Regions from separate parts of the Homo sapiens genome. Here all the other regions are linked to region 1. Evidence: promoter capture Hi-C in human tissues and cell types (Jung and others, 2019). All regions are on one chromosome and are shown on one strand. Each heading gives the region's core, a stretch centred on a gene start or on the middle of the fragment in contact. The rest is flanking DNA. Distances are from core to core; before and after follow the strand shown. Region 1 holds the start of SDC2 (syndecan 2). Region 2 overlaps LOC101927066 (a long non-coding RNA gene). Region 3 overlaps LOC101927066 (a long non-coding RNA gene). Region 4 overlaps LOC101927066 (a long non-coding RNA gene). Region 5 overlaps LOC101927066 (a long non-coding RNA gene). Region 6 overlaps CPQ (carboxypeptidase Q). Region 7 overlaps CPQ (carboxypeptidase Q).

Region 1 (3,933 bases), core at 728-3,227:
TGTCTAATCCCAGGACTTTGGGAGGCTGAGGCAGGCAGATCACTTGAGCCCAAGAGTTTGAGACCAGCCTGGGCAACAATGGAAAACCCTGTCTCTATAAAAAACACAAAAATTAGCTGGTGTGGTGGCCTGTGCCTGTAGTCCCAGCTACTTGGTAAGCTGAGGTGGGAGGACTGCTTGAGCCTGAGAGGTAGAGGCTACAGTGCAGGCCACTGCACTCCAGCCTGGGCAAGAATGAGACCCTGTCTCAAAAAAAAAAAAAAAAAAAAAAAAGGCTGTGGTTCATTCTTTCAAAAGCTAAGTGGAGCCCACATTGGCACAGATGCCAGCTACAGTGTCTGTGGAATCAGAAGCATCATCTGATGTTACAACTTCTGGCCTATTGCTCTTTTTCTTCTTTCTCCTTTGCCTACTCTTCTATTTCTCCATATTACCTTTTTGTTGGCCAATGCCTTAGACTTGCTCATGAGCATTTGTAGGTTTGGTAGCTGGCACACAAAACCAAAGGAATAAGTGTCTCCAAGTTTGAGTTGTAATTCTCCAGTTAAATTTCTTTCTTTGAGATTTATTACAGTAATAGGTTACTAAGACATTTAATTCTCACTGAGGGTATGACTGTATTTTATTCTAATACTGAGTTGAAAAATTACCATGGCCTCATATCTATATATCTACATTGGTGTATTTTAAAGGCTCACAACTCTTATACGGTATAAATTGAGCTTTAGAGCAAAATTTATTCAAGATAATATTTATCATGTGTCTTTATGTACCAGGAATGAGAATACAATGGTGAACAGACAGAAAAGTCTCTGGTTTCCTGTAGTGGGCATTCCAGGAGCAGAATGGCGTCATAATTCATTTACTCTATAAGTCAGAGAGAAAAATGATGGCACGAACTGCAAGGGATTTGTGTGTAAAATTTGTGACAGTAAGAAAAAGAAACTGGAAGGGAATACGCATTTGCCATGTTCTATAATATGCCACAGACATTGTAACAAAATATTTCATGTCAGCTACTTCCATTTAGGAAATACATGTTCATTATTTTCTTCAAACTAAGAATTACTTTATCCCTCTTTTCTTTGAAGTTATCTTAAATCTGTTATTATTCAGGGTCTCTATCCAACTTCTCATCAAATTACCCTATTTGTAGCTTCCAAACGTTAACACCTATCTGCTAAAATGGAGCCTATAAAAAGCCTTAGTGGCATAAACTGTGTGTGAGGGAGAAATGGTATTTAAGCCCTTAATGAAGTTAGGAGCTTTCAAACTGTTGCACTTTGGGTTTACAGGATCCTTCCTCCATGTCCCTTTTTTGGGGGTGCGGAAGGATTTGGGAGAATGGGAAACACTCTCACTATATATTTATTACATTAATTATCTTCTCTTTTAAAATGCAATTTTCATGAACTGGCGATTTATGAACACTTCACATTGCTTGAAAGCATCTTACACTTTTTTTTTCCCTCAACTCACAAAGCAGTTTCTTTCTACTGGTCGAATTCTCAAGGCAGAAAAGCTACATACGTCTCTCGTTTCTTCACTAATTGTTCTCTAGAAAAGGGAAAGTGAAGAAGGGAAAGAGAAAAGACAACGGGGAAGAAAAGAGCATAGAGGAGAGAGGAAAAGTGGGGAGAGAAAGGAAGAAAAGGACTGAGAAAACGCAGGAGCCCTGGCTTGCCGGTGAGCAGAGCCGGCGCAGCCACAGCGCGGAGCCGCGGCGCCCACTGGTCCTCGGAGCTGCCAATCGGCGTGTAATCCTGTAGGAATTTCTCCCGGGTTTATCTGGGAGTCACACTGCCGCCTCCTCTCCCCAGTCGCCCAGGGGAGCCCGGAGAAGCAGGCTCAGGAGGGAGGGAGCCAGAGGAAAAGAAGAGGAGGAGAAGGAGGAGGACCCGGGGAGGGAGGCGCGGCGCGGGAGGAGGAGGGGCGCAGCCGCGGAGCCAGTGGCCCCGCTTGGACGCGCTGCTCTCCAGATACCCCCGGAGCTCCAGCCGCGCGGATCGCGCGCTCCCGCCGCTCTGCCCCTAAACTTCTGCCGTAGCTCCCTTTCAAGCCAGCGAATTTATTCCTTAAAACCAGAAACTGAACCTCGGCACGGGAAAGGAGTCCGCGGAGGAGCAAAACCACAGCAGAGCAAGAAGAGCTTCAGAGAGCAGCCTTCCCGGAGCACCAACTCCGTGTCGGGAGTGCAGAAACCAACAAGTGAGAGGGCGCCGCGTTCCCGGGGCGCAGCTGCGGGCGGCGGGAGCAGGCGCAGGAGGAGGAAGCGAGCGCCCCCGAGCCCCGAGCCCGAGTCCCCGAGCCTGAGCCGCAATCGCTGCGGTACTCTGCTCCGGATTCGTGTGCGCGGGCTGCGCCGAGCGCTGGGCAGGAGGCTTCGTTTTGCCCTGGTTGCAAGCAGCGGCTGGGAGCAGCCGGTCCCTGGGGAATATGCGGCGCGCGTGGATCCTGCTCACCTTGGGCTTGGTGGCCTGCGTGTCGGCGGAGTCGGTGAGTGGGCCAGGCGGAGGATGCGCGCGCCGTTTAGGGTGTTTGAAGCTACGAGAGGAGCCCGCAGGGAATAGGGGAGCGCCACCTGGGGAACCCCCAGTCCCCAAGTATACACCGGAGATCCGCTGGGACAAATGCGCTCGTCCGGTCACCCTTTCCCCCTCTTCCCTTCCTCAGAAAAGCGCTGCTCGCTGGCGTTACCCCGCGGTCCGCGGGAATGGGGGCACCGAGAATTGCGGTTTGGTCTAGCCGCAGAGGCCCCTGAAGTCACTCCCAACTTCTTCGCCCTCGGCGGGTCTTGCTGCGTGGTCTGGGAAGGACGGAGGGGAAAGGGTGGCAGGAGGGGGGAGCCTGGGTCGGGCCCGCGAGGGAACGGCTCCACTCCGCGCGCTCCTCGAGACCAGGGATGACCTGGAAACTTCGGGGTCCCTTCCTCCGCACACCATCCCCCCCGCGCCAGCTTTCCTGTTTGACTGCATGCAAGTTCTGGGGAGATGGGGGCCAGATTTAAGAGACCCGCGAGTGTCCAGAGAGAAAAGTTTGCAAAAGTTCTTTTGTTTGATGCTCCCTGCGGCTAGGGCGAGGTAACCGACACTACGTGGAATCGCAGTAGGCGATCCCTCAAGGGGATACTGGGGGAGGCACGGAACGCGTCCGAAAATGCTGGGACGCCGGCCACTGGATTCCCAGTCCTGCGGCGACCCCCTCCTCGTTGAGGGGTGGAGGTTGCACCGCGGGGCGTCAGGGACGGGAGGACATTTTCATAGGAGTTACACGGGAGTGCCGCAAGCAGGGCGAGGCGGGGTACGTGTGACACGGCGCTCGGCTTCGGGTCGCCTGGCCGCTGGGGGACAGAGGCTTCCCTCCCGCCACGCTCGCCCTCTCTGGCCCTGGCGGGGCGCTTCTGGGGCCGGGAGGAGTCTCGTCTCCGGCGGAGCGCCTGCCGGCACCCAGCTTCCCTCCCCCGCCCTGGCGGTGGGAACTTGATTTCTCCTTTTGGTCGCGCTTCGGGGGCTGGAGCTTGTTTCCCCACGTCGCCCAATGAGCGCCCTCTAAAGGGAACTGCCTCCTTGGCCTCCTCTCGTCCGCAGCTGCCTCCACCTGGGCGCCAGGAGCTCTGTCGGGCCAGGTGGAAGCTTGAGCACCCCAGATTTCGTCTGCAGCCTCAGTGCCCTCTGGGGTCTCAGGGAGTGCGGCTGTTTCTGGCCCTTCTGGTTCCCCACGTCCTCTCCCTTTGCCATTTAATAACGTGTCAATTTCTAATTAATTGAATGGTCTTTTCAAAGACAAATTATATCATCTTAAGGTCTTTTAGGTAGTTTTATGAGTTTGAGTCTCCCTCCCCCCCTTTTTTGTGCTGAGGCTAATTTAGGACTGGGAAACCTCTTTGGCATCGAGCGGCAGATGGACATTTTTAATCAGTGTGGGAGCCTCTGT
Region 2 (3,933 bases), core at 797-3,296, 900 kb after region 1:
CCCAGAACCCCGACCGCTGAACACAGAACAGATGAGGGGCTCAGAATTAATTGCAGGGTAAATAAATGAATGGAGTTTCAAATTCTATCTCTAACCATTAATTTTTTTTCTTTTCTTTTTTTTTTTTTTTAAACCGTGTCTCACTCTCGTTCTGTCACCCAGGCTGGAGTGCAGTGGTGCGATCTCGGCTCACTGCAAGCTCCCTTTCCCAGGTTCATGCCATTCTCCCGCCTCAGCCTCCCGAGTAGCTGGGACTACAGGCGCCCGCCACCACACCTGGCTAATTTTTTTGTATTTTTAGTAGAGATGGGGTTTCACCATGTTAGCCAGGATGGTCTCGATCTCCTGACCTTGTGATCCGGCCGCCTCGGCCTCCCAAAGTGCTGGGATTATAGGTGTGATCCACCACGCCCGGCCACCTCTAACCTTTAATTTCTTAGCAACAGGAGCAATAGTAAAGGTTTTCGTATGTAGCTCACCAAGCACATGCACATCCGTTACCTGATTCAAGCCTAACAACAGTCCCATGAGTTTAGAGTTACTGTCATCCCCCTTCAGTGAGTACCTACTATGTATGGAGTACCAGGACATAAGCCCAGTGGTATGAAGAAGCATAACCATGCTACCCATTCATTCATCCATTCAACAGGTATTTATTTATTGAGCACCTGATAAATTCCAAATACTGTTCTGGGTTCCAGGAATTGAACAATGAACATGAGGGCAATCTCTGCCCTCATGGAGTTTTAAGACTAGTGGAGAAGGCAGAAAAACAGATATGAAAATATATTTACAGTATAATGCAAAGGAAAAATACATGTTATTGAAAATAGTAAAGTAGGAGGGAAATGAGGGTTATTGCTCTATCTAGGGTGCTCATATTTGAGCAGAGCCCAGGATGATGTGTGCAGGAAGGAAAGCCAAGCACATGCCTGGATGGCAGGGGGAGGCAGCGGGAGAGTGGTGCACCGGCACAGGCAGGTGTGTACGAAGCTCCCCTAAAGAACAGCCAAGACAGGGATGGCCAGAGTTCAGCCTGATGGAGGGAAAGAGTTGTCAGGCTGCAGCCCTGTTCAATAGCCCACAAGATGACTCTGTGAAAACTTGAAAAAGATATTGCTTCCCCTAAACACCTTATTTCAACTGCCAGAAAATTGCCTGGCGTTGTGCCCCTGCCATTGTGCACAGCTAAAGAAGAGAAATTCAAGAAAGAACCCAGGCATAGTCCAGAAGAGAAGGATCCAGTGAATGAAACCGGGACAGAATGGGCAGGGTGGGAACCAGGGGAGTGTAGTATCCTACAAGCCAAGTGAAGGATGCCTCAAGAAGGAAGGAGATGGGTGGGATGCTACTCATCAGTTGAGATAAAAACTCAGAGATTTCCAATAGATGGTCATTGCAGACCTGGAGTTTAGGTGGAGTAGTGAGGACCCAAATCTGATGGAATGGATTAAAGAGAGAACAAAAAGTGAGGAAATTGAGGCAGCTACCAGAGACAACTCCCATAGTTTAGAATAATATTAGAAATAAAGGGGGGAAATGGGGCTGAGCAGGATGTGAGGTTAAAGATAAGTGGTACTGCAGAGTGTTTAAATTTCACTGGAATGACACAGTAGAGAGAGATAGGTGATGCAGAAGGAAGCAAGAAGAGCGGGAATAAAGTGCTGGAGTAGGCGAGAGCAGAAGGGATCCAGCATGCAGGGGGAAAGCCAGCCCTAGGTAGGAACAAGGACTTCTCATTCAAGCAACAGAAGTAGAGATGCAGGAAGGATCGTAGATCTTGTAGTTGAAGCCTACCAAAATTCTCTTTCAATTGCTTTCATTTTCTCAGTGACATAAGAAGCAAGTTTATGAGTGGAGCAGAGAGACCATTGCTGGTCTGAGGAAAGAGAAGACAGGAGTGAAATCACTCTTTGGGAAAGTGGGGATGGATTGACAAGGTGAGTGAAGCCCCTCTGCCAGGAAGGGCTGAGTGCCTACTTCAAGTCCAAGGTCAGGAGTTTAAAGTGAGGCCAATTGACAAGGGTGTGTGCTCTTCACAAGCCATAGGGAGCTTCTTGGGTGAAGGAGGAGAATAGTCCAAGTTGGATTTAACCAGGATTGAAGCTTTGCCAATAAGTACAAAGAAAGATGAGATGAACAAGGGAGGTGAGTGGCATGCAAGAAAATGTATGCAAGCCAGTTCATGAAATCTCAGCTGGATAACGGGGAAAGAGATTGACAGAGAAAAGGAATAAGGTGGATTGGCAGTCTCAGAGGCCCCAAAGAATTGCTGGAGTTGGGATACCAAAGGGAACAGGCTAGAATAGAAAGACAGGATGATCAGAGAGCACATGAAGTGAAGTGGAGACTTTGAGGTGGTGAGGGAATGGTTAATAAAAGTCTAGGGTATGGCCCTGGAATAAAAGACTGACATGGTCCAAGGATAAAATCCTTGCAACTGAGAGGCCAAGTGTTGGATGAATTATCTATGTGGATATTCAGAATACTGAAAATAATGACATAAGTGGCAGTGGAAAGACTGAAATCCAGGTGCTAAAATTCTCAATAAATGAGGGACATGCGGAGGAGGAGCGTAGGTGACACAAAAGGAGGGTGTGGGATATGGCGGAGCCCGGTGGCATGTGCTTCCGATGCACTGCAATTCTTTACAGTGGGTGCAACAAAGGTCTGGAAACAGCAGGGAGAATCAGGGATATCTCACCTGCCTCCAGGCTCTAGATGTGAAGACGGCAGGAGAGAAAAGAAAAGGAAGGAAGCACCACTTGAATGGGCTGCAAAAAGATGAAGAAAGTGTTCAGAAAACAATTTGAGACTAACAGGATTTTGCTGATGACCGTCTGGGAGCCCAGAAAGCTTAGTGCACAGGTTTGAGGACTGGGAAGAGTCAAAGCTTGAGTTAGAGAAGGGGCTGTAAAGGCAGCAAGAGAGGGAACAACATGGGTTGGCCTGAGATGCTGGGTCACTCACAGTGTCCAGGTGAATAGGCCATTCTTGGGTAGGGCACAATGGGAAATGAGACCTAGTGGGTGATTATTCCTAGATGCTGCCTCTTTAGGGACTGGCCTGGGAGTGCTGAGTGTTGAGAGAGAGGAATTGAACGTCTTTCCAGAAGCACTAATGGACACCAAAGCGTTTTGCACTAATGGACACCAAAGCGTTTTACTTCTGATCTAACTTGTTCAGGTTCCCTTATTCCTGATTTCTCTTTGCTGGCTGGGTCCTGATTTCCTGGCCCGATTAAGCCAGTGTGAGCTTCTGAGCATTCTGCTACTTGGATCAACATCCAAACCTGAGCTCATCTCTGCACTAGTGAACATGCCTCTGTAATTCCACCTACAATAAATAGGCTATGGAAGTAAATATTTGGGGACTGTTCTGGTTGCATTCTCTCTAACCTGGCCCAACACTAAGGGCTTTTCATAACATGAGCAGTAAATAAAACTAACTGAGCTTTATTTTCAGTGAAAACACTCAGACACCCCTTCCTGGTAGACAAACACATGGGAGAGAAAGCATGAAATGAGCGAATATAATGGCAGCCAGAGGCCATGGTATTAATTATCTTTTTATTCTCTTCTTGTAGAATATGACAATCCCAGATCATGTCTTTTCACACCTCTCTGTCCTTAAACAAGCTATTCTTGCCCCTTGGGTGTGCTTCTTTCCTTTGTCTACATGTAGAATTCCTACTCAGTCTTCAAGACCCAGTTCAAATGCTATCTCACCTTCAAATTCCTAGATCAGCCTCTCACTTCTCTAGCCAAGCTGCTTCACTGTATTTCCTCGTTAGTTTGTTATAATTTGCCCCATTGGGTCCAACTCATCTTGCAACACTCCAGCTCCTTCCTGGGGCTAAGAGTCACCTCATCCTTCACCTCTTCCACTCATCACCACTCTTTGCTCAATGGCTTATGTCTTCTTATCCTCCAG
Region 3 (3,933 bases), core at 920-3,419, 880 kb after region 1:
CCATTCAGTTCAACACAGAGATATTAATTACCTGCTATACTGCAAGCAAAGCACTGCTTTTGATAGATACTTGGTGAATAAGACAAAGCCCAACCTTAAAGGACATTACAGTGGGGAAAGATGGAATGAAGCAAACAACAAATTCTACACAGAGCAGAAGAAAAACAAATGCTCAAATAGAGGGAAAATCAAAGCTCTGGGGGAACAAAGAGATTGGTCACTCAATTCTACTTTAGGAGAATCTGCTCAGACATCACAAAAGAGAAGGCATTTGAGATCACTAGAAGGATGAGTAAAATTGTAATGGTGAAACAAGGGCAGAGAGAATAGTGGAAGCAAAAGCACAAAGCAAAATTCTACACATTCTGAGTTTGTAGAACTCTGAATTGCATGCCGCAGTTGGGACACATTAGAATGGAAGAGGGCCAGAGAGGAAGAGAAAATGGGAAAAGGGGAATGTAGTTATATGAAGGAAGCTGATGAACATTGGGCTCAAGAATTTAACGTTGTGCTGTAGGCAGTGAGAAACCATTGTGGATTTTTGTGTATGGCATGACATGATAAGATCTGTGCTCTAGAAAAATAATTTTGGTGTGAAGAATGGATTGGAGAAAAAAAGAGAGAGCATCCAGTTAGGAATTTACTGCAATACTGGTCCCTGGAAGTGACACTAAGGGTCTGAGCTGCAAGCATTCACATCATTAAACATAAAGGAAAGTAAGAGCAAAGGCAGAGTTCATGAAACATGTTAGATGTGGTGAAAGAGAACTGTTTCAGGCTCCAGCAAGAGACTTTGAAGGGAAGGAAGGAAGAGAGCCCTCTCCAGGTGTAGGCTGGCCACCCAAGAGCAGGAGGCAGTGCCAGGAACCCAGCAGCCAACAGGAAACCCAGTTTCTGGAACAGGCTGAAAAGATGTCACCACAGAGCAAAGTGAAAACTCAGGGAAGTTGCAAAGTGGTCCTGGATCCCAGGAGCGGAATAGATCCTGCTTTTAATTCTTTTCCTTTTTAAACAGAGGGACTCTGGTGCTGTGGCCCCGGGATGGGGTTTCTCATCTCTCCCCCAAGGCCTCAATTGGTCAGTCAGGCTCCTGCTTCCGAGACAGGGGACATGCACATGTCCTGAAGCAGGGGCACAGTGGGGTTTGGGGGTGTGCCTCTCCTCCTGAGCCACATCAGTGCAAGGGGGAGGACCAAGGCCAGCCACACTGGGATAATCGGGGACCAGATAGACACAAAAAACCTGGTTTGTTCCTCCCCGATGTTTCTTCAGTTTCATTGTTCTTAAGTCTGGAGGAAGCAAGCTTCATTTAATTATCTCCAAGATCTCTAGAATGTGCATGCCAAAATCCTTTCTATTTTAAACCCTTCCCGGTTGAGTCTTCTTTGATCCCTAAAAACAACTTTAATTATACAAAGATCTCAATCAACTTGATTAATTTTTAATGTGCATAGAAGACTACAACAAACTTTATTTCCATCGAGCAAAAATACTTTTCAGAAGCCTAAACAGCCTGCCGCTACCTTTGCAATTCACCACCATCATTTTATAACCACTAACTCTGGGGACCCCCCCAACACCAAGATTTTAAAAGTAAGTGCCTGTTTTCTATTTCTTGCCACACCAAGATTCACTCCATAATCCCCCACAACCTGGCCCTCTGGCGGATGAGCAGGGAGCTGGCCAGAGCACAGCTGGGGAGCTTGGCTCCATATGCCTCACCCTGGCAGCTGGGGATGGTGTGGGCTGCTAGGGAAGCTTGTGTCATAATAGCCTCAGTGTCTGAGGAGAACACGCCAGGCAGCAGAGGGCTGAACAAAGGGTCACTTGTATGAGCTGGACCGGGTCTGCTGCTGTTACTGTGACCTGGCTCCCCCAACCATCAGATCCTCCAGCTCTTATTCCATCCCCTTCTCTTTTCTCCCTGGGACTGCTTTAGTGTTGCTCCAGAAATGAGTGCCTCTTCCAAACCCCTGTGGTTCTTAGTGTCAGGGCTGCTTGATCATATCCAGGGCCACCAAGAACAGCAACAACAGAAGCAATGTAAATGTAACAGCTCCTATTGACCGAGTGCTTGCTGTGTATGTGCCACACATGTGTCTTCTCAAGTTATCCTCCCCACAACCCCCAAGGTAAATTTCCCTAGTGTTCACATACTATAGATGAGGAAACTGAGGCTTAGAGAGATCCATTAGCTGGTGCAACATTGCACAGCTGGAAAGTAGTGACTTGAGTCCAGGACTGCCGACTCCAGCCCTGGACCTCGTAATTGCCACTCTACACATCTGAGTTTGTGGAGCTGTGTGTTTCTCCATTTACATTCTCCATGCCACTCACCAAGTCTCAGAGAGGAAAGGGGAAAACATAAGCTACCCTACTATAGGTGCTGAAATTCCATGAACTTTGGGCAGGGTGAGAATTTTGGAAAGACATACAATAGACTGCCTCAATGAGCCAGAGACTAAAATTAGTAGGATAGGGTTAGGATAATAGAAAGACTCCAACAAGATAAAATTTAACAAGGAAAGAGTCCTACCCTGGACTCCACATGGGTAAATCCAGATGCCTGGCAGAACATCATGTGAGAAACATGAAAGGGTTTAGACAACACTGGTACTTGAAACATTACTAATAATTATAATAATTATAATTCTAATACCAGCACTGTGCTATGTGCTTTTGTTGAATTAATAACTTGATTCCCACTTAAAACAAATATATAACATTATAATGGTAGGGTCTTTAGTAGTCCTCATTTACAGAGGAGGAAGCTGAGACTCCAAAAGCTCTTAAAATGATTTCCCGCAGTCCCTCATCAGTAAATACTGGAGCCAAGATTAGAACCCATGCAGTCAGATTTAAAATTCTGCTCTGGCACCCTCTGAGCTGTACACAGGTCCACTCAATAACCTGGTGCCATTGTAGACTGCATGCACTGCAGTTTCTAGAATGAGGCAAGTGCATTCCACACTTCCCTGTGCCACACCAAGCCACAGATAGGGTATCGCCACATCCAACCCGGGAAGCCATGCTTTAAATAAAGATGATCAAGTCTGAAGCATTCAGGACAGCAAAGGAACCTGAACTACATCCCATAAGGAAAGTTAAAGGAATTGGCCATACTTCCTTGAAGAAGACACTTCTTCAGATTCTTTCAGTATACTGGGAGGACTTGCTGGTGCAAAGGGACTGTATTTATTTTAGATGGCCTTAGGGGTGGAGCTAGGACCAGAGGTTGGAAGTAGCAAGGAGACAGCCTTCTGCTCAGCAGTCTAGCATCACTGGCAAATGCGGGAGGGACAGAGATGGCCCTTCACTGGCTTTCACAAGCCAGGCCACCACATGGCAGAATGTTGTCACGGGGGCTCCAAGCAGCAGAATGTAGCTGGCAAGATGACAGTAGCAGACCATGTGTGCAATGATTCTCCCATCTCTGGGGATGCTCTGTCCAACACCTCTCAACTCACAGAGACACCCCGCCTGTAACTGTTACCAAACAAAGGGGCTCCTGCTAGAAGCCAATACTAAGACACCAGGTTTCTGAGAAAAGAAAAGCTTTTTGTTGTAAGTCAGTTCCCAAGAAGACAGGAGTCCAGCTCAAATCTATCTCCCTGTGCTGGATTTAAAGCAGTAATTTTATTAGAAAAGGCATAGGGAATGGATCCCGGGATTAGCAATTGATTGGTGGAAGGAAAGGGGGTCTGGGAAGTCCTCAGTCATGCAGTTATCTCCTCATGCTGCCTCATGGGCCCCATGTGTAAATTTGGAAGGAGCTAGTATGAAGCACATGGTGGAAATTCAGACTGTGACATCAGCAAGCTCCTTCTGTGCAGACTGCACTTAGCCATATTGGTTCCAATCAATTTAAGCCAATTTTTTTTAACTTTAAGTTTGGGGTACATGTGTAGGATGTACAGGTTTGTTACATAGGTA
Region 4 (3,933 bases), core at 863-3,362, 760 kb after region 1:
AGGGTGTGGTTTGGGGATTTTATTTTTAATCTAATTTGGCACCTAGCATATCATGGAGCCACAATCTGCATTCTTAATTTTAAAGCCTATATCTCTTTTATCTCTGTGTACTCCTTAACATTTTTTCTGCTCTAATTCTTATATCTTATACAGTCTTGTTTCCGAGGCCACACAAGCCTCAAGAAAAATAAAGCTCTGGGACTAATTAATAAGGTTGCTGACTCTGGACTCCACCCAATTTTGTTAACAGGCTAACTACCCCTTACCTCACATTCATGTCACATGCCCCACATCTACTTTGTGTCACACGGACACCTCTGTAGGCCCTAAACCACTCCTATATCATGTCAACCATATTTAAATATGCCCATAGCCTTCATTTAGAGACACATAGGCAGAAGAAGAGAGTTACAGAGTTCTATACATACTTATCTATATTATATATTATTCTACATTGTTTTGCTATAAATTTTTTGAAAGGATGTTCAATTTTCATACAATTGAGTTTGTGAAGAATAAATTATTTTATTTTTATGATCCAAGCATTTCATATTTACCTATAGCTATATGAGACCTATACATAATCCATTATTACATGAATGGCCTAATGTTACATTTTGAAAACACCTAATTATTCATTTATTAATTTTGGCTTTGAAATTTTCTTTATGTATTAATAGTTAATAAATATTTTTACAATACCTGAAAAATTTATAGGCATCTGATATGTTGACCTACGAATAAACAACTCTGTTCTTCTCCCTCTACTCCCAGCATTACCTCAGTCAATCCCAAATTCCCTTTGTAATGGATCCCAAAAACTTCCTGCTCCCATATCCTTGCAACTAGCTAGATATTGCTCCTGGGTTCCTATTTCTGTTGCACTGGGTTCAGTGGTTACTTGAGATGACCACACCCCCAGTGAGCTCTTTATTCTCTTAAGGAGTAAGGCTCCCTCTTACGGAGTTTCTATCAAGTTTCCTAACCATTAGGCCACAAGATTACTCTTGTGGCTTCTCCATGTGCCATTTTACCCCCTGCCATAGAACATGTGTCTCAAAAGGGACACCAGGACCTAACTCTCCCCTACACTGGGATGAATTCCTGACCCCCACAGGACAGCCTTCACCTCCTTACCTTGCATCATAAGTCAAGCCCAGCATCTCGTGGTCTGACTCCAAATACCAATGCACTTATTCTCCAAAGAGTCTGGAATCTTACAAATCTGTCTTGGCATCCCAGAGTGACCCCATACTCACCTTCTGATAACACTTTACACCCTCCAAAGAATCTTTATGCAAGATAAAAGATGTTTGACTCAGAAAGATGTTCTCTCCTAAGGATATTTTGACTCCTAAGAATAATACCATTAAAACCAAAATTATGTCATAATGAATACATTTTTGTACTGAAAGGATTTTCTGGAAAAAACTCCATTAAGTCCATTTGACTCCTTGATCAACCTTCTTAAAATAGCCTAGTTAAATCCTCTTTAATTTTTCCCATTTTCATTCATATTTTATTTCACAGAAGTTATTTGATTGGGATTAATTTTTTCCTGTGTCAGTTTTATATAAAGCTTTGATGCATTACTCAATTGGTTTATTTATATCAAATATTATGGTTGTAACTTTTGCCCTTGAAAACTTACTATATAGACATTGTTCTACAAAGTTCAATATTCCCAAGTCAGACTGCACAGATTAGATTTTAACTACTAAAGGCTTTAAATTCTGTTGATCATTTCTACCAGTGATATTCACTATATAAAAAAGCTGAGAATGGTGTCTCTTTCACAGCAAAGCTACACACTCATGTCCTTAGTTAGATCTTCCAGAGTAGGCCTTTCATTTATGGCTGGATTGTAGTACAGCGAGTGAATAAGGCATGAGCTCTGGAATTGAACTGTCTGGGTTAACTTGGGCAAATATTTAATTTCTCAGTTTTCCCATTTGTGAACTGGGGTCAATATTAGTACCTAAACCACAGGGTTCTTGTGAGGATTAAAGCAGAATTCACACAAAGTGCTTCACATAGTACATTGCATGCAGTGTAAGATGTGATAGCTCTTGTTATTACTCCAACCACCTTAAAAATTCTCTGTTATCTATTACTACAGTTAACAAACCAGCCCAAAACCTGATGGCTTAAAATAACAGCAATTTATCACTCAATAATATTTAATTGTATGGGTACAACACATTTTGCTTATCTGTTCATCAGTTAATGGACATTTAGATTGTTTTCACCTTTTGGCTATAGTGAATAGTGCTTCTATGAACATTGCATACATGTATTTGAGTGCAAAAAGAAATGAAGTAGCGATATATGCTACAACATGGATGAACACTGAAGACATTATGCTAAGTGAAGGAAGCCAGTCACAAAAGTGTCTCCATAGAGACAGGAAGCAGATGGGTGGTTGCCAGGAGTTAGAGGGGGCAGGGAATGAGAAGTGACTGCTTACTGGATACAGGGTTTGCTTTTGGAGTGATGAAAACGTTTTAGAACTAGAAAGAGGTGGTGGTTGCACAACATTATAAAGATACTAAATGCCATGAATTGCATACCTTAAAATAGTGAATTTTCTGTTATGGTGTATTTCACCTCAATTTTAAAAATCATCATAACAGCAATTTATTATTTCTCGTGACTCTGTAGGACAGCTGGGAGGCTCTGCTGGCTTCACCTAGGCTCCATTCAGCAGGAGAATTGGCTGGGAGGGCAGGTCCTCTCTTTCACCTGGTCTCTCATCCTCAAGAAGGCCAGTTGGAGCTTCAAGCAAATCCCTGTGAGCAAGCACTTACCAAGTCTCTGCTTGGGTTATGTTAGCTGATGTCACATGGACCAAAACAGGACACATGGCTAGGCCCAGAGTCAGTGTGGAAGAACACTACACAAGGGCATGGTATCAGAAAGTATGATTCATTGGGGGCCATTATTGTGATAATCTCTACAAGCATCATTCTAATCATCTACCCCAACCTGACTTGGTCTGAAATGACTCCTACATCCTGACTAACATGGAATAGAAAGCTTGGGCTGCATGGCTTTAGAAGAGTAAGATGCAAGTCTCAAATGTATTCAGAGTCCTCAGAATGAAAGGAAACTCAGCTTCTTTCAGCATTCCTTTTTTTCCAGAGTTCCCCCCGTATTTAAGTTCAATGTTTTTGATCAGAGACCTCTTGTTATGATGAATTTAATCTGAAACAACTGAATGAAGGGCAGTGGTGATGCAACACAATGATCATCTTCACAGTGTCCAATTGTAAGTGCTCCGGAGTCACCACCCTGACATTCCTGGGGAGTTAGTCCTATCAGAAAGGGCTGGTGGCAGCTCTATTGGGAGGGGCTCCCACAGCCAGAGCTGCCTGGTAGACAGAGTACCCACAGTGCCCTTAAAGACAACTGTTGTTTATGGAAGACACCTGCACCCACTACCTTACTTTAACCCTGCAAGCTGGTACTATCATGATCCCCATTTTGCAGATGAAGAAAGTGGTAGGACAGGAGATGCACTGCCCAAATGCCCTTTCTGGAGGGAAGGACTTGCCTCCAGCTGTCAGCTCCTTCAGAGTGTGCTTGCCATAGACAGCTGCTTTGCCCAAGGGCATCTCTTTCCTTTCCGGGTAGCCCAAATGCAACAGCTAACAGTGGCAGGGGTACAAAGACCCATGACAGGACACCTCTGAGGGCTGCGTATGCTCCACAGCTCCCAATAGGGTTTGCTGATCAACTTCTCCCTCTGTCCCATTCTACCCCCTCCCCCTACAGTTTACACATGTTGATCCATAATAAACACTCGCCACTTCCCAGTTGGTGAATCTGGGCAAGTCGCTTTGTCTTCCTGTATAAAGGGTGTGGTGGAGGCTGTCCTGCCCACTTCACAAAGTGTCAACAAGATGTAGAAATGCTGGTGAGATTAAGGCAAAA
Region 5 (3,933 bases), core at 433-2,932, 740 kb after region 1:
GCCTGTGAGAGACACTTGCTCTGCAGGCCCCATGGGAGTTGTGGAACAGACTCACCAGATTCCAGGGCTGCCTGAGAGTGTGCCAGTCTATGGCCCCTAGATGCCAGTGTGGCCCTGTCCTTCGGTGCCTCTGGTCGGTGGCTTTTGCCTACAGTTCACTAGGTCAATCCCAAGCCTATCCCTTTTTCCAGATGCAGCTCATGACTCACTCGCTTCCCTGTTTAGAACTTTTTCCCAAGGTGGAGTAGGTTGATGCCAGAGTTGGAGCCCCTCCTCTGCACTCCCATGTCGCCCTCTACTATGGTACTTACCCCCTAGCCATACTTCCTGTTTACCTGTCTGTCTCCCCTGCTGGTTCATGAGCCCCTCATGATCACAGGGGAGGAACCGTCTCTTAAGTGTCGTGCGTCCCCAGAGCATAGCACAGGGCCTGGTGCATAGAGGCATGCAATAAATGGTTGTTGAATGAGTGAATGCCTATATAAATAAATGAATGGGTGACAAAGCTCACTGAGCACATCAGTATGGTGATGTGCTGAACATCAAGACATTCCTTTAAACCTCTCAGCTGGGGTCTAGCCTCTTTAAGTTTGCCCTCACCCCATGTGGAATTCCAGCACCCACTCACCAATCCACATGCACATACAGTGGACAGCAGCAGCATCTTAGGCCTCCAGGGGGCTTCAGAGCCCCTGCTCCTTCTCTCTAGGCTAGTGCCTCTGGTCTCACTGTAACAAGGGCTGGGTCTGCTCACCTGCTCACTATGACCTTAGTGAGCTAGGCCTGCTCAGCGCATGTGGAGGTGGTACGTGCCGTCTATGGAACCATAACAGCCCCATTTTAAAAGGCCAAGTGTTTCTATTTCTTTTGAGCCCAGGATTTTTTCAGAACATTTCCCCCATGAATCAAAATCCCCTATAGTCCATTATAGAAAAATGGACAGCAAATACAAAGATGCTAATGACCTAACCTTACTCTCAGGTCCTTAGTAAAATGACCAGATTCTTAAATTAATTCTTCCCACATGGCCACAAGCATCTCATCTACCTTTCAACAAAAGCAGATGACTCACACTGGTTTACTAACCATAGTAACTACCTACTGACCCACTTTCTGTCACTATATTGTCGCTTTTCATACATTCTCTCTTTTAATTCCCATAACAAACCCATTAGGTGGGTTCTGTTTTGATTCCCATTTTATAGATGAGGAAAATGAAGCTCAGATATTTTAGGTGACTTGCCCACAATCACATAGTTGATAAATGATGAACTTGAGATTTGAAACCATGACTGTTGACCTCTAAGATTTAACCTTATCTGGTTATCTCTTGTTACATAACAAACCATCATCAAAATTTAATGGCTTAAAACAATTTACTATGATCTCTCATGGTTCTGTGGATTGACTGGGTCAGGTGGGAAGTTTTCACCTATAGTCTCTCACGCAGATGCAGTCAGATGGCAGCTGGGGCTGCAGTCACCTGAAAGCTGAACTGGGCTGGATGTCCGAGATGACAAATCATATGGCCACCAGTCAATGTTCACTGAGGACTGGGAGTTCTTCTGGGGCTACTGATTGAGCATTTATATGTAGTCTGTGTGGTTTGTGCTTCTCACAGAATTTAGAATCCACAGGATAGTGGGATTCTAAAAAGGAGTATTCTAAGAGAAAACTTTTCAAGAGATCCAGGCAGGAACTGCAAGGCTTCTAATGCCCTAGTCTCACAAGTCCCAAACTTCACTTCCTGTGTATTCTATTGGTCAAGCAATTCCGCAGGGCCAGCTTGGATTCAAGAGGAGGGAGATAAGACAATAACTCTTAATAGGAAGAGGGTCAAAGAATTTGCAGTCATCTTTGTCACTGTCTGCTCTCTGATTGCATATTATTTACATTCCTCCCACATGGTAAATACACGTGTCTCCTCCTAAGACCCAAAAGTCTCATCCCATTATGGCATCCACTCAAGCTTGAGGTCCAGGATTTTATCATCTAAGTCAGATCTTGATGCAGATGAGCCTCCTTGGGGTATAGTTCCCTGAGTACAGCTCTGTCAATCTGAAGACCTGTTAGATGAAGAGACAAGTTATCTGTCCCACACACATAAATACAGTGGTGATACAGAGATAGGATAACTTCACTAAAGCTTTCATTCGAAAGGGAAAGAAACTGGAGGCACATCGCAGTCACTGATCCATAGCAATTCTAAACTGCTGCCAGGTGCATGTTGCCAGATCCTTGATTAGTGAGTTCCCAGTTGTGCCTCCCTGGGAATGATTGTAGCTCTTGGCTCCCCACTCCTAGTGGGATTTTGATTCTGCTCTCTGAATCATTCTTCCTTTTCCATAAGAAATGGCCATGTTTGCAGCTTAGTAGCCTTCTTGTCCTACTTCCTACCCATATAAGGCTCTCTGCAGTTTGAACTGTCTCTTTCCTGTTTAGTTCAGGCTGATGGTGCTTTCGCATGTACAATTCTCTTAAATTTTTTGTAAGTTTCCTAAAGACTGTTTCAGGTTCACTCCATTAGTCAAATACATACCTACAAATCTCTTTAAGGTATGCCACTTTCTGCCTTGGGCTGACAGTTAGGTGCTATGGAACAATGCCCTTCAGAATTCTTCAAAGTCTGTGAAGTAGACTTTCGCCTCTCCGTGTGGCCTGGGCTTCTTACAGTATGTCACCTTAAAGGTTTCTAAAATCTTAGCAAGCGTCTTAGAGCCATATCTCTGAGATGATCATTACCTTATACCATGTCTTACTTTGAGAACTTTTTTTCCAACTGGAGAGGCTTGGAATGGAAAACAGCTTTATTTCTAAACCCAGCAAGTCTGGCTTCTTATATTCCATCTAAGTTTTGCTTGAAACCGAATAGTTCATTATGGAAGAGGGGAGTTCACTTCCCTATATTCATACTTTACCATACTTGCCTAAGAGAAACCATTAGGCATGTTTAGCATTCTGCCTGGAAGTCTCCTTAGCCAAATCTGCCATTTCCTAGATATATTTTCTGTTTTTCACATTACCAAAAGCAACAGTATACCAAATTATCCATCATTACAAAACAAAGGATGCCTTTTTCCAACTTCCAATAACAATGTCCTCATTTTCCCTCTAGTTCTCAGTAATAGTTTCCTCAGGGACCTCACAGCTTCTTCCTGCTGCTTGGTCCCCAAAGCCAACATCCCACATTTTAAGTTTTCATTATGGCAGCACTCCAGGTACCAAATTCTGTTCTAAGTATCCACAGTTCCACAGAATGCCACCCAAAACATAATTGTTTAAAACTGCAATTTATTATTTATCATGGTTTTATGGGTTGACTTCATTCAGCTGGGTGATTCTTATCTGGGCTTTCTCCTACAGTTGCAGTCAGATGTTAGCTGGGGCTGCACTCAGCTGAAGGCTTGATTGGGATCCGTGTCTATATGGCACACTCAGATAGCTGGCAGCTGATACTGGCTGTGGGAGGGAAGCTCAGTTGGAGCACCTACTTATGGCCTCTCCATGTGGCCTGGGCTTCTTACAGTATGCCACCTGGTTCCAAGATGGACCATTCTGAGAGTGAACGTTCCAGGAGACCCAGGCAGAAACTACAACACTTCCTCTGACCTAAACACAGAAGTCCCAGAACATCATTTTCACTGTATTTTATTAGTCAAGCAAGTCACTATGGCCAGCTTAGATTCAAAAAGGGAGGAATTAAGGAAAGAAGAAGACATAGAGACTTGTCTCTCATTAAGAATCCATCTCTTAATGAGAAGCAAGCCTGTGTCCTCTCCTTTCATACTATTCTATACAAATTATGGGTCAGCTCTGCATATCTGGTAACTCATTCCTTTAAATATTGATGCTGATTCTGCTCCCAAGGCCATCTTGTCTCTTACCATAAAAAAATACACATATCCTACTAATATATAGACTCAATTTGACATT
Region 6 (3,933 bases), core at 624-3,123, 620 kb after region 1:
GGTCACAAATCATCAAAACTTTGCTAGTCATGCTGCCCTGGGAGTGGGTTAGACAGCCCAGGAGAAGAGGAGGGATGCTAAGGAGCAGGCAGGTAAAGAGAAGCCCATGGAGAAGACTGCGGGGCCATCAGCGAGTGGGGGCAACCAGGAGAGAGGCTACCATGACAGGGCTTGGGGAAGAGTTTTGCAAGGAAGGCAGATGATCAAGCAGGTCCAGTGTCCCAGAAAGACCTTTTTTTGTTTTTGAGACAAGTCCTGTGCTGTCGCCCAGGCTGGAACCTCAAGAGGCTTGGCTCTGAAGGGAGGAGACAGAGAGAGCAGCAGCAGGAGAAGGGTGTGGGGTAAAAGAATGGGTTGGTTTAAGACAGGAGGAACATAAACAGGACTTTAATGTGTTTTAGAATGAAGAGGATGAGTGAATGAATGTTTGGTGAGAAGCAATTACAGGATATAAAGCAAATAATTAGAATATAGGCACAGTGTTTACTGACTTAAACACTTAACAACAAAATTATATGATAGTGGACTGAATCCTCAGTTTGCAAAACAGAGAATTCAGTTCCATGTGGTGGAGGCAGCATAGTGAGCAGGTTCTGGAGCAAACCTCTGTGGTGCATTCCCAGTTGAGGGTGGCTAAGGGCAAGTGACCTAATCTCTCTACCAGAAATGGAGATAATCACACCCATCTCTCAGGCAACAACAACTGAGCTCAGTTAGAGCGCAACAAATGTCAGCTCTAATCAGCTACTGAAACCTAACATTAAGGGAATAAAACGTATCTGGTGGATACTCACCCAGTCTGCTAAAGGTACAGAAAAATGTGTTCATGTGCTGTTGATTTCTAAACTGCTGAAACTCAGACCAGTCCTCAAGAGCTGGGCCTGTTCCAACTGTGGAAACACTTAGGGTTTGTATTGTTTGGCTACAACGTGGGCAGCAGAGTGTCCATCACGAAGGCCATGTGTGCACAGCCAAGAAAACTCTTTTAGGTTCCTACCTGTCTCTTTCCAGAGCCATCCCTCTGGATTTCAGATGAGATTTCCCTATTAAGGAGGGATGCCAAATGCTGGGGATTTCATAATACTCCCAACCCCAGGCACCAGATTTGTGTAATTGCAGTGGTGGAGATTTAATTGTCCTTTGAAGAGGCCCCATACTGTTTGTCTGTCAAATTGTCTGCATGTTGGTGCAGTTGAAATTATAGGAGAAGAGGAAACCAGGGGTATGTTTCAAAGTAGTTGGCACGTGGTTGGTGATCCATAGTGCAGGTTTCCTTTCTGGAAGGTAACAGGACTGTGTTCTCATAAGGCAGCATGGCAGGGTGGAAGCCATATGGGATTTGCCCTCGAATTTCAGCGCTGCCGTTGAGCAGCTGTATGAACTTGAGCTATTTGCATATCTTCTTGAACTTTTTTGCTCCTCTGTGAATGAAGCCATTGCACCAGCATGTTTTCAGGATTAAGTGAGACAATATGTGGAAGTGCCTGGCACACAGTAGGTGTTCAGTATTTTTTTATTTTCCATTCTCTGTGTCCTTGTTTTGACTACCAGGTAACTATGTTTACCCTCAGAGATCTGATGTATTTCTTCATATCAAGTATATATCAAGAATTTCATCCCTCATCCTAATGCATTAAACTCACTGCATGGAAGTTATACCATTACCTAGACTCACCACGGTCTTGTCAGACACCAGCAGAGTTTTGTGTGGCTGCAATAGAGATGTTATTGCCAGTTGTCAGTATTGAAATGAGGCACTCCTTCATCCTTCAGTGAAATCTGTGCAGGCATTTTCCTTTCTCTGGTTAAACATTTTATAGTCTCCTTTAAAAACAATGCCCTCATTTCATTTCCTCTCTCTGGCTGGACTCTTCTCCTCCCTCCTGCTTTCCTAAAATCCATCTTGTTTCCCTGTATTGTTTGCTGAATGGGCAGTTTAATGAATACAGCATTTCCATTTTGAAATGTACAGAGCACAAGGCAGAAACTGAATTTCCTCCTGGACAGTTTCCATCCACAGTCCTCATTTCCAGTTTTCTCCCTTCTTTTCTTTTCTACAACACAACTGAAATTTGCTGAACCAGAAAGGGGAGGAAGGAGGTGTGACAGGAGAGGCAATATGCCTTCTCATTGTTTCAGCAAAAGCTTATTAGCATCCTGCTCCCTAGAAGAGACCAAGTGCCCTAAAGATGCCCTGGGTGCCTCTTCTATTGCACAAAGCTCAAGGTCCAGAGTATACAGTGCATGACAGAATCTAATTACCAAGATAATTACTGTTACCTGCACTACCTAACTGTTGTGTTTTGTAATCAAAAGCTATATTGGCAGGGGTGAGTGTGAGCCTGCTGAAAACTCAGGGAAACTGTTGAAGGTTTATCAACCCGAAGCAATTTTACTCTAGTTAGTGGGCCTGTGTTGCTCAGTTAGCAGAATGTTTGGGGATCAGAAGAATACCCCAGAGCACTTCAGCCATTGCATAGACATTAGTTACCGGGTAGGAATATCCTCAGCTGACTCAGGTATTCATGTTGTTGAAACCAGACTTCATGGCAATTTGAAAACGTCTGTGCCATTTTTAAATTTGTTCTCGAAATAGTTGATCAGTACCTGACTTAGCCTTCATTTGGCATTCGGTGAAGGAGAAATTGATTTCCTTTGGGCATGGCTGTATGTACCTGATGGGTACAGCGTGTGCTAAGCTGGATGTAGGTATGTATTCATACTATCACCACCTGCTTCATATTCATTATGGCACAAGGTTACAAATTGGCTTTCTGTTTCCCATCTCAGCCAGCTCTAGTTAATTTATGTCTTTACCTCTGTGCTTCACACACTAAAGAAATGGAGTTTCTACTTTAAAAATCAGGTGTATTGAAAAAATGGTTATAATTGTTTTTTTAAATTTTTAAAGAAATTCCAAGTGGAAAACAAGGAATAAGTTGCAAAAGAGTATGAAAAGTTTGGTAATAAAGGCAAGGACACTTAAAAGGAGGGAGTAAAATAACAAAGCAAAATGGGTGAGGCTGACAGGCTATAAATTGAAAAGGGAGAAGGGGTCAAGGAAAATGCAGACAGGAAGAAAAGAGACAGAAAAAGAAATGATAGGGCCTTGAGTAATGGACTCAGAAAAGGAAATAGGAAAAGTTAAGACCAAAGTAAGAATTATGGAGACAAAAGTCAAAGACATCCAGGTCTCAAGAATTACAGGTTATTGGTGGCCTGGGAGGTAGTGAAGAGGGGCTAGGCATATCCCTCATGAAGTTAGATGTCTGAATTCCTCAGGACAGTGTGACAGTCAGGGAGAATGTCCCCTGAATATGCTAATTCAGACTCTAAAATAAGAGCCAGCCAGATTCATTACCATGGTTGGCCAGCCTGTAATGGCAACAGAATTCACTGATGCATATTAAACTGAATTTTTCTAACCAAGGTCTTAAATAAACAGACACCAGCTATAACTGAAAATTAGAATAAGGCCTTCAGTGGTGACTATTTCTGTAGGGAAAGTCTGAAAACCCTTAACATGGTTTTTTTCCAAATTTTTAGAAATTTGTGGTTCTTAAGGCTGCTTAGTATGTTAGCAATTGCTCCAGTGCAGGACTGTGTGGATCCCTCTGGTATTTTCTTTTAACTTTCTGCAAGGCAGAGAGTGTGGCTGACCTGTGATATAAATGAAACCCCGTGGCAGGAACATTAACTCCATCTACAACAAAGGAACATGTAGAGATTTGGATTCTAATGAAAATAATAGAAGCTCCTTCTCCCAAAGTTGGGAAATACAGAGGAGGTCTTCTCAGCCAGTCCAAATTTGCAAAACCAGAATCATCACAGAAAGGTAGATAATAGGAGGCCTAAGAGAAAGCTCAGTTGTCCTTTGGCCTATGGCCTTTGGGCTTGCTGTAGATCCTCTGTTGGCAACTGGATGCTCTGTTG
Region 7 (3,933 bases), core at 419-2,918, 600 kb after region 1:
TAATATCTAGAATCTATAAGGAACTTAAGCAATTCAACAAACTAAAAACAAACAATCCCATTAAAAAGTGGGCAAAAGACATGAACAGACACTTCTCAAACGAAGACAGACAAGCAGCCAACAAACATATGAAAAAATGCTCAACATCATTAATCATCAGAGAAATGCAAATCAAAACCACAATGAGATACCGTCTCACACCAGTCAGAGTGGCTATTACTACAATGTCAAAAAATAACAGATGCTGGCAAAGTTGCAGAGAAAAAAGAATACTTACACACTGCTGGTGGGAATGTAAATTAGTTCAGCCACTGTGGAAAGTACTTTTGGAGATTTTTCAAAGAACTTAAAACAGGACCTACCACTTGACCCAGCAAATGCTGTGTGTATACTCAGAGGAACATAAATTGTTCTACCATAAAGACACATGCTCACATATTTTCATCGCAGCACTATTCACAATAGCAAAACATGGAATTAACCCAAATGCCTTTCAATGGTAGAGTGGATAAAGAAAATACATTCATTACCTGGGTGACAAAATAATTTATAAACCAAACCCCAATGACACACAATTTACCCATGTAACAAACCTGCATATATACCCCCTAAACCAAAAATAAAAGTTGGATAGAAAAAAGAAAGAGGTGTGAGAAAAGACCCCACTGTGACACATAAGTGGCATAGATAACAGTGGAGATTCACTCACATTTGTTGAGTATTACCTAGACAGTGGAGATTCACTCACATTTGATGCGTATTACCTAGACAAGGAGGACAATGGCCCCTCTTCCTTTCTGTATTCTTTGTAAAGGGTAGGCCTTCTGAGAGGTTAAACCACCAATCAGAATTTGAAATCTTTAAAGTAATCAATTTATCCGCTATTCATTTGCCTTCTACTTTAAATCTAAAGTTTTGTCACAGCCAATATTTATAGTCTCTGACATCACTGGGATCAGAATGGAAATACTAAAATCTGTTTTGTGGTATCCTAAATTCACTGAATTAGTATTTATTGTAGGACTCCCATAGGGTGTGAGTCTTTACAAATAAAGGTAGGGAATGCCCTTTATTTGTAAGGGCAAATAAGTTCCTCCTTCTCTTGTCAAGGGGATGTGAAAACCTCCTTGCACATTTTTTCTTTTCTTTTTTTCTCTTTGCAGAATGAGTGTTCTGAGAAGAACAAAACTCTTTTCTGACAACTCTTATAAAACACTTTTGTGTTTGATTCTCCAACGACTAAGATTTGGACACACAATTCTCCATTCATTTCTCAAGTGTCAAGAAAGAATTGAGTTTAAAGGCTCCAATTCCCTTGCAGGTTACACTGTCTATCTAGATGAATTAGTATTCAGCACAGCTTTGGGAAAATCTCAAATGATTTGCAGGTTTGCAAATTGTTCAAACTCATAATGAAATTTCAGGCTGAGGAAATCACTAAACAGTTCATGGCATGAGTTTTTCCCTCTGAGATCTGGACATCTTAGATCAATTCACTCCTCTACCTTCGCTGCCCCATCCATGCCAGACAGCCCAGGGCTGCTTGAGAAAGTCACACACACCTGTCACCACTGAGGTTATTCTCCTATCCCCATGTCCTCCCCTGCTCAGCAAACCAGCCCACTCTCCATCCATTTTCATTCTTTATTTTCTGTTCCTATAGCATGTGTTCCTCTTCTTATCCAGGGCTATGTTCTGAGTCCGGTCCCCCTCTATGCCCTCAAGCAACTCAAACTGGCAATTATTTATATCCTATTGCTTCAATTCTCTCTCTTCTCTAAACTTTTCCCATCAGAATATAAATATTTCAAGTATTCGCCATTAAAATATATATATATATACAGCTTTACCCAACTTTATGAACCTCCAGCTCTTTCTTTTCTTTGCAGCCAAGCTTTTTGTCCTCTCACTCATTCCTCCTTCCAGTGCATCCTGAATTCCACTTGGAACTGTCCACCAGGATTACCTTCCCAAGGACACAAAGGTCCTCCTTTTGGCCAAATTGAACTGGTGCATTCTAGTCCTTTTCTTGTTTGATTTTTCTGAAGCATTGACATAGTTGACCACCACTTACATCTTGAAACTCTGTATGTCCTTAGCTTCTCTTAACTCCTCTTTTCATTCCTTTTTCGCTTCCCTTCCTTGTGCCAGTCCCTTACGTGTTAGTATATGCTAGGATCTCATCCTTGGACTCTATTTATTCAGGTCACTGTTCCTGGAAGATAACTCTATAGATTCTCAAATCTATATCTACAGATTTTGGAAGCCATGTGGCCAATGTTACCACTTGGGTATCCTGTAGGTATTTAAATTCAACATGTCTGAAGCCAAACTTCTATCTCACCCTTACCACAACCCATCTCTAGGAATAGAAATTATCGTCCAAGTCGCTCAAACCTGAAAACTTGGCATTGACTTAGACTTATTTTCCTCATTCACTCTCCCTTATTCAGTCAATCCTTAAGATAATGCCATTTCTACCCTTTAAATGTAGCCTCTCCTTTATTCATTGTACTGCTGCCTTAGTTAAGGCACTCAAAATTCCTCATTACTGCATTGCTCCCAGTTGTCTTCCCAAAATGTGGCTTCCCATTCTTTCAAGGCCAACTCTTGAGCATGACATATTGGTATATAAAGGCCTACATGACTTGACACTTGCCAAACTCTCCAGCCTGGTCTCTCATGGGTTTTTCATGTGGACTTAACTCTGGCCATAGCATCCTGCTGGAAATTATTTAAAAACACCAAATTATTTCACAATTCCTTATTTCATATGCTATTATTCCCTTTGCTACTTATCTTTTAAGGCTTAGCACAGAGAGCGTCTTAACACATATTACTCAAGAGATGTTAGCAATCACTATTGTTGTTTTTGTTGTCATGTCTCCCTTTAGTATCTAAGGCTGTTTGGTACTCCTCCTCTGTTTTCATAGTAAACTTAAAACATAGCCTTAATCATACTATATCATAGTTGGCTACTTGTTTTTCTTGTCACCAAATTCTGAATTTTACTTTTCTCACTTACATTGCCTTCCTGGAACCTAAAAGCATTTGGGCTTGTTATTTCTGTTTAAAATAACAAAGACCATCAACAAATTTCCAGTGAAATTATAGTTGTGGTGGGGATGATGATGATGATGATGATGATGATAGCTACATTTATTGAACTCTATGTCCTAGGCACTTGCTAAATGTTTTTAAATGTTTTCCATTATAATCTTATTAATGATTTCATTTAATGGGTAAGGAAACTAACACTGAGAGAGGTAAGTACCTTGGCCAATTCATATAAGTTATGAGTGGTAGAGCCAGGATTTAAGCACATAGAGTAGTATTCCAGAGACCAAAAAATAAAGAAATCATTATCTATGTCCTGATACTAACCTTATCCTTATTACTTTATGAGAAAGAGAGCCTGGAAAGTCAATTCAAAATATTTGTTACATGTCTACTTTATGTTGGATTGAATTAGGTCTTTGAATAAAACAGCTCTTCTTTGAACTTTATCTCCTAGAAAGGGAAATAAGATATGAACCTCCCTAAATAACTAGGCAAAATATTATAAATGCTAAAACGTACAACTACTATAAAAATGGAAAGAGAGAAAGTTTAAACTGGTTGAGGAAAACTCAGGAAAGTCATCTTGGAGAAGGCGGCATTTGATATGTGCCTGAACAGTTGAGTCCTAATGCGTGAAGATGGCAGAGGATTGAAGAGTGCATGAGATTTGAAGGGTACTTGTAAGGAATGGAACAACCACCTCTTATTACTCTGCTTTATGGCAAAGGAGTAAGATGAAGGCAAGAGGCCTTCATAGAGCTTTCTCCCTGCAGAGAGGGGAAGAGTATAGTCCCTCATGACTCAGAATCTCTTGGTTGCTGCCATGCAGGCATCTATGGAATCACAAAAGCAAGGCCCAGGAAACTTTAAACT

Evidence for each region. The method cuts DNA at HindIII sites, captures the fragments that hold promoters and counts their contacts. A contact is called where the count stands out against the background at its distance.
Region 2: a fragment that was not itself captured here is called in contact with the fragment with the promoter of SDC2 in region 1 in 2 of the 25 tissues and cell types used here (H1 embryonic stem cells and dorsolateral prefrontal cortex).
Region 3: a contact is called between a fragment that was not itself captured here and the fragment with the promoter of SDC2 in region 1, in 2 of the 25 tissues and cell types used here (bladder and spleen).
Region 4: a contact is called between a fragment that was not itself captured here and the fragment with the promoter of SDC2 in region 1, in 2 of the 25 tissues and cell types used here (dorsolateral prefrontal cortex and mesenchymal stem cells).
Region 5: a fragment that was not itself captured here is called in contact with the fragment with the promoter of SDC2 in region 1 in 1 of the 25 tissues and cell types used here (H1 embryonic stem cells).
Region 6: a contact is called between a fragment that was not itself captured here and the fragment with the promoter of SDC2 in region 1, in 2 of the 25 tissues and cell types used here (dorsolateral prefrontal cortex and spleen).
Region 7: a contact is called between a fragment that was not itself captured here and the fragment with the promoter of SDC2 in region 1, in 1 of the 25 tissues and cell types used here (spleen).

What each region holds. Positions count from the first base shown.
Region 1 is chr8:96,491,836-96,495,768 of GRCh38, forward strand. It overlaps SDC2 (syndecan 2), which reads left to right and starts at 1,978. Exons shown (of 5, transcript NM_002998.4): 1 at 1,978-2,496. The coding sequence starts at 2,437. The HindIII fragment of the contact is 18,592 bases long and covers 1-3,933 here.
Region 2 is chr8:97,392,178-97,396,110 of GRCh38, forward strand. All of the region lies in intron 2 of LOC101927066 (a long non-coding RNA gene), which reads right to left. Among named protein-coding and RNA genes, the nearest start is that of SNORD3H, 36 kb to the left of the region's middle. The HindIII fragment of the contact is 4,267 bases long and covers 1-3,933 here.
Region 3 is chr8:97,374,132-97,378,064 of GRCh38, forward strand. All of the region lies in intron 2 of LOC101927066 (a long non-coding RNA gene), which reads right to left. Among named protein-coding and RNA genes, the nearest start is that of SNORD3H, 18 kb to the left of the region's middle. The HindIII fragment of the contact is 4,443 bases long and covers 1-3,933 here.
Region 4 is chr8:97,254,257-97,258,189 of GRCh38, forward strand. All of the region lies in intron 2 of LOC101927066 (a long non-coding RNA gene), which reads right to left. Among named protein-coding and RNA genes, the nearest start is that of TSPYL5, 22 kb to the right of the region's middle. The HindIII fragment of the contact is 3,214 bases long and covers 506-3,719 here.
Region 5 is chr8:97,234,493-97,238,425 of GRCh38, forward strand. All of the region lies in intron 2 of LOC101927066 (a long non-coding RNA gene), which reads right to left. Among named protein-coding and RNA genes, the nearest start is that of TSPYL5, 41 kb to the right of the region's middle. The HindIII fragment of the contact is 3,307 bases long and covers 30-3,336 here.
Region 6 is chr8:97,112,993-97,116,925 of GRCh38, forward strand. All of the region lies in intron 7 of CPQ (carboxypeptidase Q), which reads left to right. All of the region lies in intron 2 of LOC101927066 (a long non-coding RNA gene), which reads right to left. Among named protein-coding and RNA genes, the nearest start is that of TSPYL5, 160 kb to the right of the region's middle. The HindIII fragment of the contact is 5,761 bases long and covers 1-3,933 here.
Region 7 is chr8:97,092,931-97,096,863 of GRCh38, forward strand. All of the region lies in intron 7 of CPQ (carboxypeptidase Q), which reads left to right. All of the region lies in intron 2 of LOC101927066 (a long non-coding RNA gene), which reads right to left. Among named protein-coding and RNA genes, the nearest start is that of TSPYL5, 180 kb to the right of the region's middle. The HindIII fragment of the contact is 3,142 bases long and covers 98-3,239 here.